Linked DNA regions of Homo sapiens: regions 1, 2, 4 and 5 are each linked to region 3. Evidence: promoter capture Hi-C in 16 types of primary human blood cells and fetal thymus (Javierre and others, 2016). All regions are on one chromosome and are shown on one strand. Each heading gives the region's core, a stretch centred on a gene start or on the middle of the fragment in contact. The rest is flanking DNA. Distances are from core to core; before and after follow the strand shown. Region 1 has its middle 16 kb from the start of PLEKHA5. Region 2 overlaps PLEKHA5 (pleckstrin homology domain containing A5). Region 3 holds the start of PLCZ1 (phospholipase C zeta 1). Region 4 overlaps PLEKHA5 (pleckstrin homology domain containing A5). Region 5 overlaps PLEKHA5 (pleckstrin homology domain containing A5).

Region 1 (2,700 bases), core at 157-2,656, 380 kb after region 3:
ATCCTTCTAGAAATTTTTCTCTGCATATTATTTTACTAATAAAATTGAGATTAAAATAGCACCAGACTACCAGTGTGTGTGTGTGTGTGTGTGTGTGTGTGTGTGTGTATCTGGCTTCTTTAACTTCATATTAATTTTTGAAAGTTGTCTTTTTACTTCACAAAATGTGATGATTATAAAAATATTTTTATCTATACAATTACAAATGTAAAGATAAGTTACTGAGTGAGGTTCTGAATGGATCTATTGTCCTAGGTATTTTTATGGATAGGATTTGTTAAATAAGAACTTATAAAAAGTGCTCTGCAAGAAGTCTTAATAACGTTCCTATCCATGTTTGTTAGTTCATTTTCTGTTGCTGTAAAGGAACAACGGAGCCTGGGTAATAAAGAAGAGAGGTTTATTTGGCTTACAGTTCTTCGGGCTGCACAAAAATGGCACCAGCATCCACTTGGCTTCTGGTGAGGCCTCAGGAAGCTTTGACTTATAGTGAAAAGTGGAAGAGGAGCAGGTGTGTCACATGGCAAGAAAGGGAGCAGAAAGAGAGATGCCAGCCTCTTTAAAACAACCAGGTCTCACATAAACAAATAGAGTAAGAATTCCCTCATTACAAAGGGGATGACACCAAGTCATTCATGAGGAATCAGCCCAAGCATCTGTCACTAGGGGATCACATTTCAACATGAGATTTGGAGGGGACACACATCCAAACTATGTCACCATGCATTTCAAAATAGATTCTTGGCTAGGCATGGTGGCTCACGCCTGTAATCCCAGCACTTTGGGAGGCTGAGGAGAGGGGGATCGCTTGGGCCCAGGAGTTTGAGAACAGCCTGGGCAAAAAAATGAGATCCCATCTTTACAAATAAAATTAACCAGATGTGGAGGGATGCAACTATAGTCCCCGCTACTCAGGAGGCAAAGGCAGATCACCTGAGCCCAGGAGATTTGAGGCCATAGTGAGCTGTGATTGCATCACCATACTCTAGCCTGGGTGACAGAGTGAGACGCTGTCTGAAGTAAAATAAATTCATTAACTTAATTAAATAATAGAAAAATAAAGTCTCTGGTGAATGATGACACTAGACATAGTAAAGAGCAAATACAGTGGCCAAAAGTCAATTTTTCAATTTGAGAATGATTTTTCAAAGAGCATCTATTCACTAAAACCCACTCTTGCCTTTACCATGCACAATTACACCTAAATGACCAGTGTAGTTACCAAATATTGGTGCTGTGATTCCAGATTGGCTTCTATTGGTTATAATTTAGCTAAGATCCAGCTTTTTCATGAATAAAAAAATCTGTCTCTAAATCCAGTAAGCTTAGATCACTTATCAAGTATATTATAGATCCAAATTATACTTTAGTTGGAAGATTAGATATATGACTGGTAAGGATTCTTTCCACTATATGGGGAATATTTTAATTCATTTGTTCATGATAGATATTTAGTTAAGTCTACCATGAGCTTTTACGTGTGAAACTTAAGCTTTAATTTTTTCCAATGGTGAAATGTAGAATTGCTGGCCTTCCTCTCTAGACATTTGAGACAACACAGATTTTCATAGTTTGATACAGATAGAGCTTAAAATTTTTTATTATAAAAAGAAAATATGCTCAGTAAGGAAATATTGGAAAATACAAGTAAGTACAAAGAGAAAGACTATTACAAGAAGCTAATCACTGGCCAGATGTGGTGGCTCATGCCTGTAATCCCAGCACTTTAGGAGGCCAAGACAGCTGGATCACTTGAGGACAGGAGTTCAAGACCAGCCTGGCCAACATGGCAAAACCTCGTCTCTACTAAAAATACAAAAATTAGCCGGGTGTGGTGGCATGCACCTGTAGTCCCAGCTACTTGGGAGGCTGAGGCAGAGGAATCGCTTGAACCCGGGAGGCAGAGGTTGCAGTGAGCCAAGATCATACCACTGCACTCCAGCCTGGGTGACAAAGCACGACTCCATCTCAAAAACAATAATAATAATTATCACTGCTTACAGTTGGATGTATGTCCTCCTCTGCTTTCCTCGTTACAAACATATTTTCTAACCTGCCCCCCAAAATAGGTATCGTGTTATCCATATTACTTTAAGCCTTTCTTTTTCACCATTTATACATTATGAACATTTTCCCAGGTTTGTGGTCTTCTAAAACCACACTTTTAATGGCATGCATTGTTTAATAGCCTAGTTATACCAAAATATGCCCAATAAAACCCAAATTCCTGGGCATTTATAAGGGAAAAAAAGCACTATGGTGAATAACTCTTCACATATCACTTTGCCCACATCTCTTATTATTTCCTTAGGATGAACTCCAGGAAGCATTATTTCTGGGCCAATGGGTATACACATTTTTAGACATTTGTCTCATATGGTCAAGTTGCCTTCCAGAAAATTAATATCTATTTTAACTCCCATTAGTAGTATATGAGAGTTCCACCTTCCCTACAACCTCTATAGAAATGGGTATATTTCCCCCTCAAGTTCTTTTTCTACACCCAGTACTTAAGGAATTGTGTCTTATAACTGTTTCCCTAATTGCTAATAGTGTCTGCCACATAGTCCGTGTTCAAGAAATATTTATTAAAGAGAATGAATGAATAATAAACATTCTTCTAAGCTAAACATGAAGTGGATACGGGGAAATAATAGAATGCAGAGGAAAAAAAAGGAAAACTAAACAAGGAATCAGGAG
Region 2 (2,700 bases), core at 191-2,690, 410 kb after region 3:
TATAGAAATCTATGTGGACATGTGTGGGATGACCCTCTTTATTAAAACTGTTAATTCCTAACTCCTGTAGAATAGAGTTATTATGTTTTTTTCTTTTGATGCCCTGTTTAGTTGGTTTGGTACTTTCACTGGGGCTGTGTCAGTTTAAGGTCCAAAATAGATCTGACTGATTCTGTTTTGGGGGATGGAGGAAGGTATCTTAGGTCTCAGTGTGCTTCTGAGAAGTCTTTCAAGTAGATGACCTCCCCTGTTCTGCCCACACCCAAAACCCACTGACCAAGCACTTGCTGTCATGTTACCCTGTTTTGTTTTCCCTGTGGCACTTATCACTGGTTAAAATTCTTATTCACTTACGTGTTTTCTTTTTCTGCCTTGTGATATGAGCCTCACAAGAGTGGGGACCTCCTCTGACCCTCTTTGCTGCTAAATTCTCACAGTTAAGAATAGTGCCTTTCTGTTCTTAGGAAATGCTCAATAAATATCTGTTGAACATTTGTAATAAATATTTTGTAATAAACAAGTCAGCAGTTTGTTAAAATACAGTGTGTTTAAATGCTATGTCACTGGTGCATTGCAGACACTTGTTGGGTATTTATGGAATCTTGAGGGAGGGCCGTGGTCAGTAGGAGCTCAAGGAGAATGAAAGCTTGAAGCCACAAAGGGTTTTTCTAGATTAATCCAGTGAAAGACAGATGAGCAGGAGAGTTAGGGTATGATAGATTTGTTGAAATGTTGAACTGTTAGACTTCAGGCTGGGAAGGAGGGAAGTAGAGCAAAAAGTGATCTGATAGATTGGGATAGAGATTCTTCCAAGACCAGAGAACTCCCACAGGGAAGTAGTTAAACATGTATACTGCAAGGTTGGAGATTTGGTGTTGCAGTGTGATCATTGAAGTCATGATTTTAGATGTGCCAGGTTATGGGTATGACAAGGTTCTGGGATTAAGAGAATGGATGGCTCAGGTAGTTGAAGGACCTTGGGGGAATGGGGAATAAATATCTGTTCTTTGAGAGAATGCAGTAGGACAGCTGATGGGAGAAAGTCCTTAACAGCCAAGGTACTGAGGTAATGCTTTGAAAAGAGGTTGAGGGTATAGAGGAGTTTGCTAATTATGGAGCACCATTTCCATAGGTAGTTAAATTTGTAAGATAGAAGGTGGACTGTAGACTAGGTCAGGGATGGAAAAAACAAAGCCTTGTAGGGTTAATGCCAGGTCAGTAGATGGATTGAGAGAGGAATTGGAGATAAAGTTAATTTGGGCATTGAGAGGTTTGCTGAATTTAGTTTCAGTAGACTCCTAGAGAAAGGTGACCCTGGGACTTACAGAGGCCGTGACTCATTTGGCCAAGAGTGGTGGTCAGCCCAGGAATTTGTGGGTTCTGCCTGTGCTCCTTAAAGGGTATTTGGGTAGGTAGATTGTGAACTCTTAATAGCTTACATACTAAGCAGATACATAGTCATTAGCAGCTTCCATATTTTCACTATGGTTTTTCAGAATATTTTAAGTATTTTTTTATTAGAAATGACATTTTCCAAATGTAAACTCTTTAGAGATGGAAAACATTAATGATATATGCAAATACTAAAGGACAGTGATTTAATTTAAGTAATACTGTTGTCAAGTGTAAAATTCAAAGATCTAAGCCTGGAACCTGGACTTAAAAAAAAAATTCAAGGATCAAGATTTTCAGGTTAGCATTTTCTATTTTTTGGTCATACTTTTTTTTTTTTTTTTTTTTGAGACAGGGTCTTGCACTGTCACCCAGGCTGGAGTGTAGTGACACGATCTCGGCTCACTGCAAGCTCCACCTCCAGAGTTCATGCCATTCTCCTGCCTCAGCCTCCCGAGTAGCTGGGACTACAGGCGCCTGCCACCACGCCCGGCTAATTTTTTGTACTTTTAGTAGAGACAGGGTTTCAGCATGTTAGCCAGGATGGTCTCGATCTCCTGACGTCGTGATCCACCCTCCTTGGCCTCCCAAAGTGCTGGGATTACAGGCGTGAGCCACCGCGCCCGGCCACATTTTTTTTACATTGGTATTAGCAGTAGATATTTTAATGTAAATATTTAATCTTTTTTGCTGTTAGTCATTTTGAAAGTTCAAACTGTGTGATGAACCAGACCAAAACTTCATAATCTTTAAACCACAAAGTTGCCTAATAGGCAACAAAGTAAGCAGGACAACAGTGGAAGATTTTACAAATTCTCAGAAACACCTGGAAATAATTTAGGAAAAGCTTTTGACTCTAGGCTCATAGATAGAGACTGTACATGAAGAATAATTAATAGCAATTACTTTCTTGTCTTTAGTCTTTCGTCAGATTTGTTTCTTTGAAAAGAGCAAGGCAGGTTAAAATAATCTGTATAATATAAATTGCCCATGCAATGCAGGTCAGTTTGTTTTATGCAGGTAGCAGTAGTACGAACTTGGGGTCCAATGATATTTTTTATATACTACTTATATATGATGGTAATAATTAAAATCTTTGAGTATGTTTTATTTCTTTAATTATGACAATTTAATTAAATGCCAAATGAATATAACATTTGTCAGACATAAGGGAAAATAAGATGAATAAGCACTGCACATGATACTCAGCTTAAAATAAGAACATTTTTTTTATGTCAAAGAGCTTCTCTAGGATCTGTAAATAGGAGTGTAATTGAAGTTGTAAAGTACATGCATTTGATTTTGGGA
Region 3 (2,700 bases), core at 156-2,655:
TTAGAACATACATTAAAACATTATAACAATCTATTGCCTGAAGGCATGAAGTTGGAAGGCAGCTAGACTTCAAGATCGCCTCTCACCTGACCTCTCTGTTTTAGTTCTCTCTTCCAGAAAGGTGAGCAAATTAACCCTGAATCTTAAGGAAAGTGGAAGCATTAGATGAATTCCTAATATGCCACCGAACACAGTTTCTGCTACTTAGTGTTCAATAAATAGTAACCATGACTGATAAAGTTATTATTACTACATTAGTCCAATGCCCAGCTACACACACACTCAAGACAGTACCATCAAAAAGCATCAGAAATACCATGGTGAGTGTATATTTGGTATGAAAAACGAAAAAAATTTTTAAAAGCTTACTTATCATAGATAAACTACAAAAACTAGGACACTTCCATTTGAAAAACTAAGATCGAAATGAGATAATGACAATTATCACTAAAATTATAAAAGGTATAGGTAAAAATTGTGCAAAACTACTAAGTTTCAGATTGTTAGAACGAATTAATGAGATCTCCTTAAATTTAATAGTTATGACTTAATCCAGCAAAGCTCATGTTCTTGTAAGAAAAAGATACCAGAATGCAGGGAAAGTTAGAAAAGCTCAGAACAAACAGGGAAAAGCAGTTCAACTTAAATGAAGAGGACTTAAATTCAGAACTCCTCGAAAAGAATAACAGCATCAAGTAAAGAGGATAAGTAGGAGAAAGAAGAAGAGGAGCAGAAAGAAGCTCTCAATGGATATCTCATTTCCATAGTTTCATGACCTGTAGAGCCGTTTCTCCTCACTTAGAAGTCTTTCCCCAGTAGGTGCTGTCATGGGTTCCAAATACAATTAACTCTGCCCCTTTGCAGAAAATAATTTCTTGATACTCATCAGCTGTTACCACTTTTCTAGGGAGAAAGCAGAGAACACACAGTGGTTTTTTTTGCCTTCGTTCTTTGAAGCTAGCTCACACTTAACCATAGAAACAGTATGCAAGATGTGGTACCTGCACTACCCTGCCCTTGAAACTGTTTGGCTTCTTACGTTCTGACCACCTCCAAACCCACAATATTTGAAAACACAGCTTTCCCTGATGTCTGGCATTTTTCCATGAACTGCCATTGTATCTCCTTTTATTTTTTACTACTTTGTTTAAACCCCTCAAACCTTTCATCATAATATGCTTCCAGTGGGTTTGGGCAGCTACTCTGAGAGCCTGAGTATAAATCAACACCATTGTGATTCCTGAAGTTGCAAAGTGCTGTCACTCTTGAAACTTTGGGCTGCTTCTCTAGATCGTTGACAACATATAATGCACACAGAGACACACCACTTTCGAAGAAGACTGTTCAGGAGGCTAAGTTCTTAAAATCTTCAAAAGAGGTATAGCTGGTTGGCTGGGCACCACACTGTCAGGTGACTGTCATTTTTTCCTTTTGGTCTGAATTCCCATTGTGATATCATCAGAGGTTCCACACTTCACAAGGAAAGCTTCTTATGACCTCATCAGGAGGCTCAGACCTTGCCAGACTGCCTGCTTTCATGGATAGACATAAAAACCTTCAGCTTGAATGTTAACACCTTGATGGGAAAGGTGGCTCATGGAATGTTTTCTTATCCTTTGAACACTCCTCATTTCAGAAGCTTTGCTTCTGTTGCAACCAAACATGACACTTAGCGTGCTGAGCAGGAAGGACAAGGAAAGAGTAATTCGCAGACTGTTATTACAGGCCCCTCCAGGGGAATTTGTAAATGCCTTTGATGATCTCTGTCTGCTTATCCGTGATGAAAAACTTATGCACCACCAAGGTGAGTGTGCAGGCCACCAACACTGCCAAAAATATTCTGTACCACTCTGCATCGATGGAAATCCAGTACTCTTGTCTCACCACAATGTAATGGGCGACTACCGATTTTTTGACCATCAAAGCAAACTTTCTTTCAAATATGACCTGCTTCAAAATCAGCTGAAAGACATCCAAAGTCATGGTATCATTCAGAATGAGGCAGAATACCTGAGAGTTGTTCTTCTGTGCGCCTTAAAACTGTATGTGAATGACCACTATCCAAAAGGAAATTGCAACATGCTGAGAAAAACTGTCAAAAGTAAGGAGTACTTGATAGCTTGCATTGAAGATCACAACTATGAAACAGGAGAGTGCTGGAACGGACTTTGGAAATCTAAATGGATTTTCCAAGTTAACCCATTTCTAACCCAAGTAACGGGAAGAATATTTGTGCAAGCTCACTTCTTCAGGTGTGTCAACCTTCATATTGAAATATCCAAGGACCTGAAAGAAAGCTTGGAAATAGTTAACCAAGCTCAACTGGCTCTAAGTTTTGCAAGGCTTGTGGAAGAGCAAGAGAACAAATTTCAAGCTGCAGTCTTGGAAGAATTACAGGAGTTATCCAATGAAGCCCTGAGAAAAATTCTACGAAGGGATCTTCCAGTGACCCGCACTCTTATTGACTGGCACAGGATACTCTCTGACTTGAATCTGGTGATGTATCCTAAATTAGGATATGTCATTTATTCAAGAAGTGTGTTGTGCAACTGGATAATATAAAGAATTGCTCCTGGTAACTATCTTGATTTGACTTGTTTGTGTTTCTTGGGAATGGTTATTTTCCTAAAATTGAGCAATCTGTAGAGATGTCTCTCACTTAGCCAATGCAAATTTAAATGGGAAAAGTGTAGCAAGTAA
Region 4 (2,700 bases), core at 27-2,526, 440 kb after region 3:
TCAAATTGGCTACAGTCACATGGCTAGAAAATGGCAGAGCCAGGAAAATAACACAGAATTTCATGAACACTGTATTTATTGCTCCACCATATTCAGTGTGTCCTGTGCTTTTGGGGTGTTAAAGTAGTGGTGGTGATCATTCTCCTCGTGTCTCGGGTATGTTTTGCATCTGAGCAATAGAATGGGAAAAAAGTTGTTTTTTTTTTTTTAAAGAAAATTGCTACTGATTTCCCTTTCTTTTTTTTTTTTTTTTTTTTTTTTTTTTTGAGACGGAGTCTCGCTCTGTCGCCCAGGCCGGACTGCGGACTGCAGTGGCGCAATCTCGGCTCACTGCAAGCTCCACTTCCTGGGTTCACGCCATTCTCCTGCCTCAGCCTCCCGAGTAGCTGGGACTACAGGCGCCCGCCACCGCGCCCGGCTAATTTTTTGTATTTTTAGTAGAGACGGGGTTTCACCTTGTTAGCCAGGATGGTCTCGATCTCCTGACCTCATGATCCACCCGCCTCGGCCTCCCAAAGTGCTGGGATTACAGGCGTGAGCCACCGCGCCCGGCCCTTGATTTCCCTTTCTTGTATGCATACACCCATACACATAAAATTTTGCCATCTGTTTATGAAAAAGTACAGCTTTAATTTCTTTTTATTGCCAGTTTTCAATCTCTGCCCATCAGAATAGTAAAGAAAGGATTCTCCAAAAAAAAAAATGTGCTCCATTATCGGAGCCAGACACAGTTGAGTGTGGGGACGAAACCAGTGCTAGCTGGGAGCAGTGCTTTTTACTTTTTTCCCCCAGGTAACAGTAATGACATGGTACTAATACTTTTTATTAGCAGTAAGACCTCAAAGATTCTCAAATCACTCACTATTTGAAGCTGTCATTATCCCACGAATCCCTTTGGCTCCAGGGAACAGGACAAAGAAGAGGAATACAGCCTAGGGGATAGCTTAAGGTGTCATGTTTGATTTCTTGTAATTAACTTTATCATTTAAAAAGGCATCATGTATTTTTATACTTTTTGAATTTGGCCAGGTCTCATGCGGATGATAGTGGTCTAGATAGTTCATGTTAGTAGTGATAAAAAATTAGGAGCCACCATCAAAAATCAAACATTAGGTTTTAAGTATTGGAATTAGGAGGTTTTTACCTTTCAGGACTCATAGACTGAAGCTACTGTTGCTATAGAAATGATTTTCCACCTACATAATTTGTGTTTGAGACAATTCTTTCTTAAATACATTTTTAAAACTATAAAATGAATAAGCGTAGGCATCACAGCACAGAAATAATTCTTCAGATGGGAGAAAAGTGATTTGTTTTTAATAATATCATGAGTAGAACCATGAAAACCCAACTACAAATCTAATTTTATTTTAAGATATTTCTTTAATACAAGGATTGAAAAATTAAAACAATGTAAATGCCTGTAAGGGGCATGGTACTATTCTGGCAACAAGGAGCTTTTAAGAGCAGTGGGCTCTTAAATAGGTTTCGTTTTTTGTTGTTCTTCCTGCTAAACTGCTCTTAAAATGATTATCAGAAAATCGCACTGGAGGTGTTAATTCTTTGAATATATTCGCTCTATGTGTATATTTCCCCAAGTTTCTAATATTCTGAGAACTTAAAAAAGCAAACATGGGTAGTATCATGTTGCTAATCTTGTTATAATATGATTTGAGTTTTATTTTTAACATATACTTAAATGTTATTTGTTTTTTACTTCATAATAACCAGTTATTTCATTTTGTCCTATAGGTGTTTCATGCTCTAAGAAAAACATTGCGAGCTCTTAGAGGCGTGGGATTTACACTTGGAAGCAGGCGTAGGGACCGTTCTGCCCAACTTTTTCATTTTACTGACCGATGAGCTGATACTTTGAGGGCTAAGGTGACACCTAGGTTATTCAGCTTATTGTAGCAGAGCCGAGACCAGAATTAGATTTACCCTAAGCCTTTTATTATTTACATGATGCTGTGTCTTTGTTAGCCTCTTCCATACTAGAGGGCCACTTGGTTGTATTTTTATCTGTACAATAGATTTATGTATGTAAACATAAATCTCCATGCAGTCATCTCTGTTGGATTTAGATGAATAAGTTCAAGAATCTAAACAAGCAGTTCATACAACACAGGGAAACTACAGCCAGTCTTCAAAATTGTTTTGTAGTGAGAGAAATTTTATTTGCATATGTAGCATTTTAACATAGTTGATTCCCATTAAGAAAATAATGATCAAGCTAATAAGAAATGTGAATAAAAAATGGGAACAGTGAAAGTCAGACAAAAAGAAACATAAATGGCCAATTTTTTAGAAGACAGCTGGAATGAGGTATCTTATTCCTGTATCAAATTGGCAAAGATTTCAATGTGGGAATATCCCTATGTTAGTGAAGGCAGAGGGAAATAGTTAACTCTCTTTTACTACTGATCGAGTGTAAACTGTGAAAATAGTCAAATATAAAATGCTCATTCATCAGTTCTATACCTGGAGATTTATCCTGCAAATTTAATAGTACAGTATTGATATTGAGTTGAACTTGCATATTGTTTTTAAGGATGGCCATTGAAATGTTGTTTATACACCCAACACATACAAAATAGCAAAAATAGAAATTAACCAGACTTTTTTCAGTTTTATAAATTATGGAACAGTAGAATATATGTAGCAATAGATTTGTATGTGCTAACATCTGATATTAAGAGA
Region 5 (2,700 bases), core at 65-2,564, 450 kb after region 3:
GTGACTAATTAGTTTCCTATGATGTAAACATATTTGGTATTTTATGTCATTTATTTTAATTTTTTTTGACCATGACTCGCAATAAGAAATAAATATTATTGGATGACCCACTGTCCACTTTATATAATACTAAAATGAAAATACTTTCTTCCCTTTACCACCTATACCTTCTCTTCTGTTTTGTTATTTTAAAGTACTGGTAGCAAACATCCTGTTAACTGCATTTCATTATCTACTAATGGGTCAGACCAAGATTTAAAAACACAGTGCCCTGTGAAACAGTGAGATTTACATGGGCAAGAATGGGAGTGAAGTAGGGATTATTTCTTGCATGTAACTGTGGGTCATAGACCAGTATGTAGAAATCAAACTGTTAATACTTTAATACCCTGACACACAGCTTCCCACACTGAATGCTTTGAGTTAATGTTGAGTGTTGTTGAATGAACAGCCTAGCATCCATCACTACCATGCGGCCTAATTGGTTGTTGTTGTTGTCAGTCTTGTCCCCTAAACTCATCTTATTGCAGTACAGATGATTGTTTTTCAACTGCTGCTGCCAAGAACCAAAATATTCAGTTATACAAAATAAGATACGTTGTAACCTAATTAGATACAGGTATATCAGCTGTTTTCTCAAATCACCTCTAAACATAATGCAATAATCATTTATTAACATTCCCTGTTCCTGTGAGTCAGGAATTCTCAAGCTGCTTGGTTGGGTAGTTCTGGCTCAGGTTCTCTTACGAGGTTGGATGAGCCTTATGAGCTTAAGGCTTTAGTCTCTGCAAGCTTGAAAGCTCATGCTGGAGGATCACGTGTCTGGCAAGTTGATGGTGGGTAGTTGGTTTCTCTGCATAAGGCTGCGTGACCCATGACATGGTGGTTGGCTTTGTCCATAGTGACCAAGCCTAAGAGAGTAAGGTAGAAGCCGCACTGCCATTATGACTTAGCTTTGGGTGTCACTTTTGTCATATTTTATTGGTGAAAAAGGCCAGCCTTGATTCATTGCAGGAGGGGACTATACAAAGGTGTGTATACCCTTGTATAGTCCGTGTATAGGCTGGGGATCACTGAGGGTCATCTTAGAGGCTTGCTACCATACTTTAAAAGGATATCTTTATTAACAATTGACTTGAATTTAAAAAAAATTTTAGTATTTTTATTTTTAATTTTAATGAAGGAAAAAGTAAACATGTAAATGCTTGCTTTATTTTTCAATTTTATAAAAGCAGTTAATTACAGAGAAGTGCTGACATTTCTACTTTTCATAGGAAACTTGGAGAGAAGTCAAAGGTGTAAAAAGGACAAATTTTAGAAAATGAGATTCATGAGGAAAGACTGATTAAGTTCACTTTAGTTAATGAAATGTGGAATTATGAAAAATTAAATATTAAGGAGAACCCTAATGAAATTATAAGAATAGAAAATAATTTACTCTTGGCCTGGCACAGTGGCTCACACCTATAATCCCAGCACTTTGGGAGGCCGAGGCGGGCAGATCACTTGAAGTCAGGAGTTCAAGACCAGCCTGGCCAACATGGTTGAAACCCCGTCTCTACTCAAAATACAAAAAAAATTTAGCCGGGCGTGGTGGCATTCGCCTCTAGTCCCAGCCACTCGGGTGGCTGAGGCAGGAGAATTGCTTGAACCTGGGAGGTGGAAGCGGTTTCATTGAGCCCAGATGGCACCTCTGCAGTGCAGCGTGGGCCACAGAGTCAGACCCTATGTCTCAAAAAATAAAAAAGAAAAGAATTTATTCTTACTAAAATTAGTAAACCTAATCATTAATAAGTGAAATTGATCTAGTAAATAATTGATCAGAGGCATGTGGTACTAAGCTTTTAAGGAGTGATGAGACTATCATAGACATTCTACTTAACTAATACTTTCGATTAGGGGTTAGTAACTGTGGCTGTGGACCAAATCCAGCCTGCTGCCTGTTTTTGTAAATAAAGCTTTGTTGGAATGCAGCCATACTCATTTATGTAATGTCTATGGCTACTTTCTCACTATAGCAAAGTTGATAGTTTTGACAGACTGTTGGGTCCACAAGGCCTGAAATATTTACTATCTGGTCCTGTACAGAATAAATTTGTTGACCCCTGTTTCAGATTTTAGACTTTTACATTGTAGATTAGGTTTTGGAGTGTTTATGAGGTGCATAAATCCAAGGACAGTAGCATGTGAGTCAACTTTAAACATAAGAGGGTGCAATGTTAATGTGGTTTTGATTTTTTAAGAAGGAAAGTCTTAATACTTAGAAGAGGGGCAGAATATAGTAAGATTCACAAGAATGATGCTTCATTAGGTAAGACTTTGTTTATTAAGATAATTTATGAGCTTTCAGTAGACCCCATGTTGGGAACACATGAAGCCAATATTTTAAAAGCAAATAATGTTGGTTAAATTAGGTTCTTGTGAGAAGGCAGTTTAAATTTTTAATCAATTTCTTACTTCAAATGGAAAGTTAGATATGAATTTTATACTTGGACGTTTATTCTGATTTAGAGTTTTGATTTTTTTAATTTGTATATAATCATAGGGTACAAGTGCAGTTTTACTACATTGATATATATTGCATTGTGGTAAAATCAGGGCCTTCAGTGTGCATCTATCACTGGAGCAATGCACGTTGTACCTACCAGAGAGCCTCCCAGCACATCGTACCTACGAAGCAACCTCCTATCATCCACCCTT

The links. The method cuts DNA at HindIII sites, captures the fragments that hold promoters and counts their contacts. A CHiCAGO score of 5 or more calls a contact.
Region 1: a fragment that was not itself captured here is called in contact with the fragment with the promoter of PLCZ1 in region 3 in 1 of 17 cell types (megakaryocytes); the score reaches 5.8 in megakaryocytes.
Region 2: a fragment that was not itself captured here is called in contact with the fragment with the promoter of PLCZ1 in region 3 in 1 of 17 cell types (megakaryocytes); the score reaches 5.5 in megakaryocytes.
Region 4: a contact is called between a fragment that was not itself captured here and the fragment with the promoter of PLCZ1 in region 3, in 1 of 17 cell types (megakaryocytes). The highest score is 7.0, in megakaryocytes.
Region 5: a contact is called between a fragment that was not itself captured here and the fragment with the promoter of PLCZ1 in region 3, in 1 of 17 cell types (megakaryocytes). The highest score is 6.2, in megakaryocytes.

Annotation. Positions count from the first base shown.
Region 1 is chr12:19,112,698-19,115,397 of GRCh38, forward strand. No RefSeq gene overlaps it. Among named protein-coding and RNA genes, the nearest start is that of PLEKHA5, 16 kb to the right of the region's middle. The HindIII fragment of the contact is 168 bases long and covers 1,323-1,490 here.
Region 2 is chr12:19,150,145-19,152,844 of GRCh38, forward strand. All of the region lies in intron 3 of PLEKHA5 (pleckstrin homology domain containing A5), which reads left to right. Among named protein-coding and RNA genes, the nearest start is that of PLEKHA5, 22 kb to the left of the region's middle. The HindIII fragment of the contact is 1,593 bases long and covers 645-2,237 here.
Region 3 is chr12:18,736,607-18,739,306 of GRCh38, forward strand. It overlaps PLCZ1 (phospholipase C zeta 1), which reads right to left and starts at 1,406. Exons shown (of 15, transcript NM_033123.4): 1 at 1,326-1,406; 2 at 755-903. The coding sequence starts at 765. CAPZA3 (capping actin protein of muscle Z-line subunit alpha 3) reads left to right here and starts at 1,513. Exons shown (of 1, transcript NM_033328.3): 1 at 1,513-2,582. The coding sequence starts at 1,663. The coding sequence ends at 2,562. The HindIII fragment of the contact is 1,122 bases long and covers 363-1,484 here.
Region 4 is chr12:19,172,769-19,175,468 of GRCh38, forward strand. The region is part of intron 3 of PLEKHA5 (pleckstrin homology domain containing A5); the gene reads left to right. Among named protein-coding and RNA genes, the nearest start is that of PLEKHA5, 44 kb to the left of the region's middle. The HindIII fragment of the contact is 5,251 bases long and covers 1-2,700 here.
Region 5 is chr12:19,190,974-19,193,673 of GRCh38, forward strand. The region is part of intron 3 of PLEKHA5 (pleckstrin homology domain containing A5); the gene reads left to right. Among named protein-coding and RNA genes, the nearest start is that of PLEKHA5, 63 kb to the left of the region's middle. The HindIII fragment of the contact is 1,049 bases long and covers 791-1,839 here.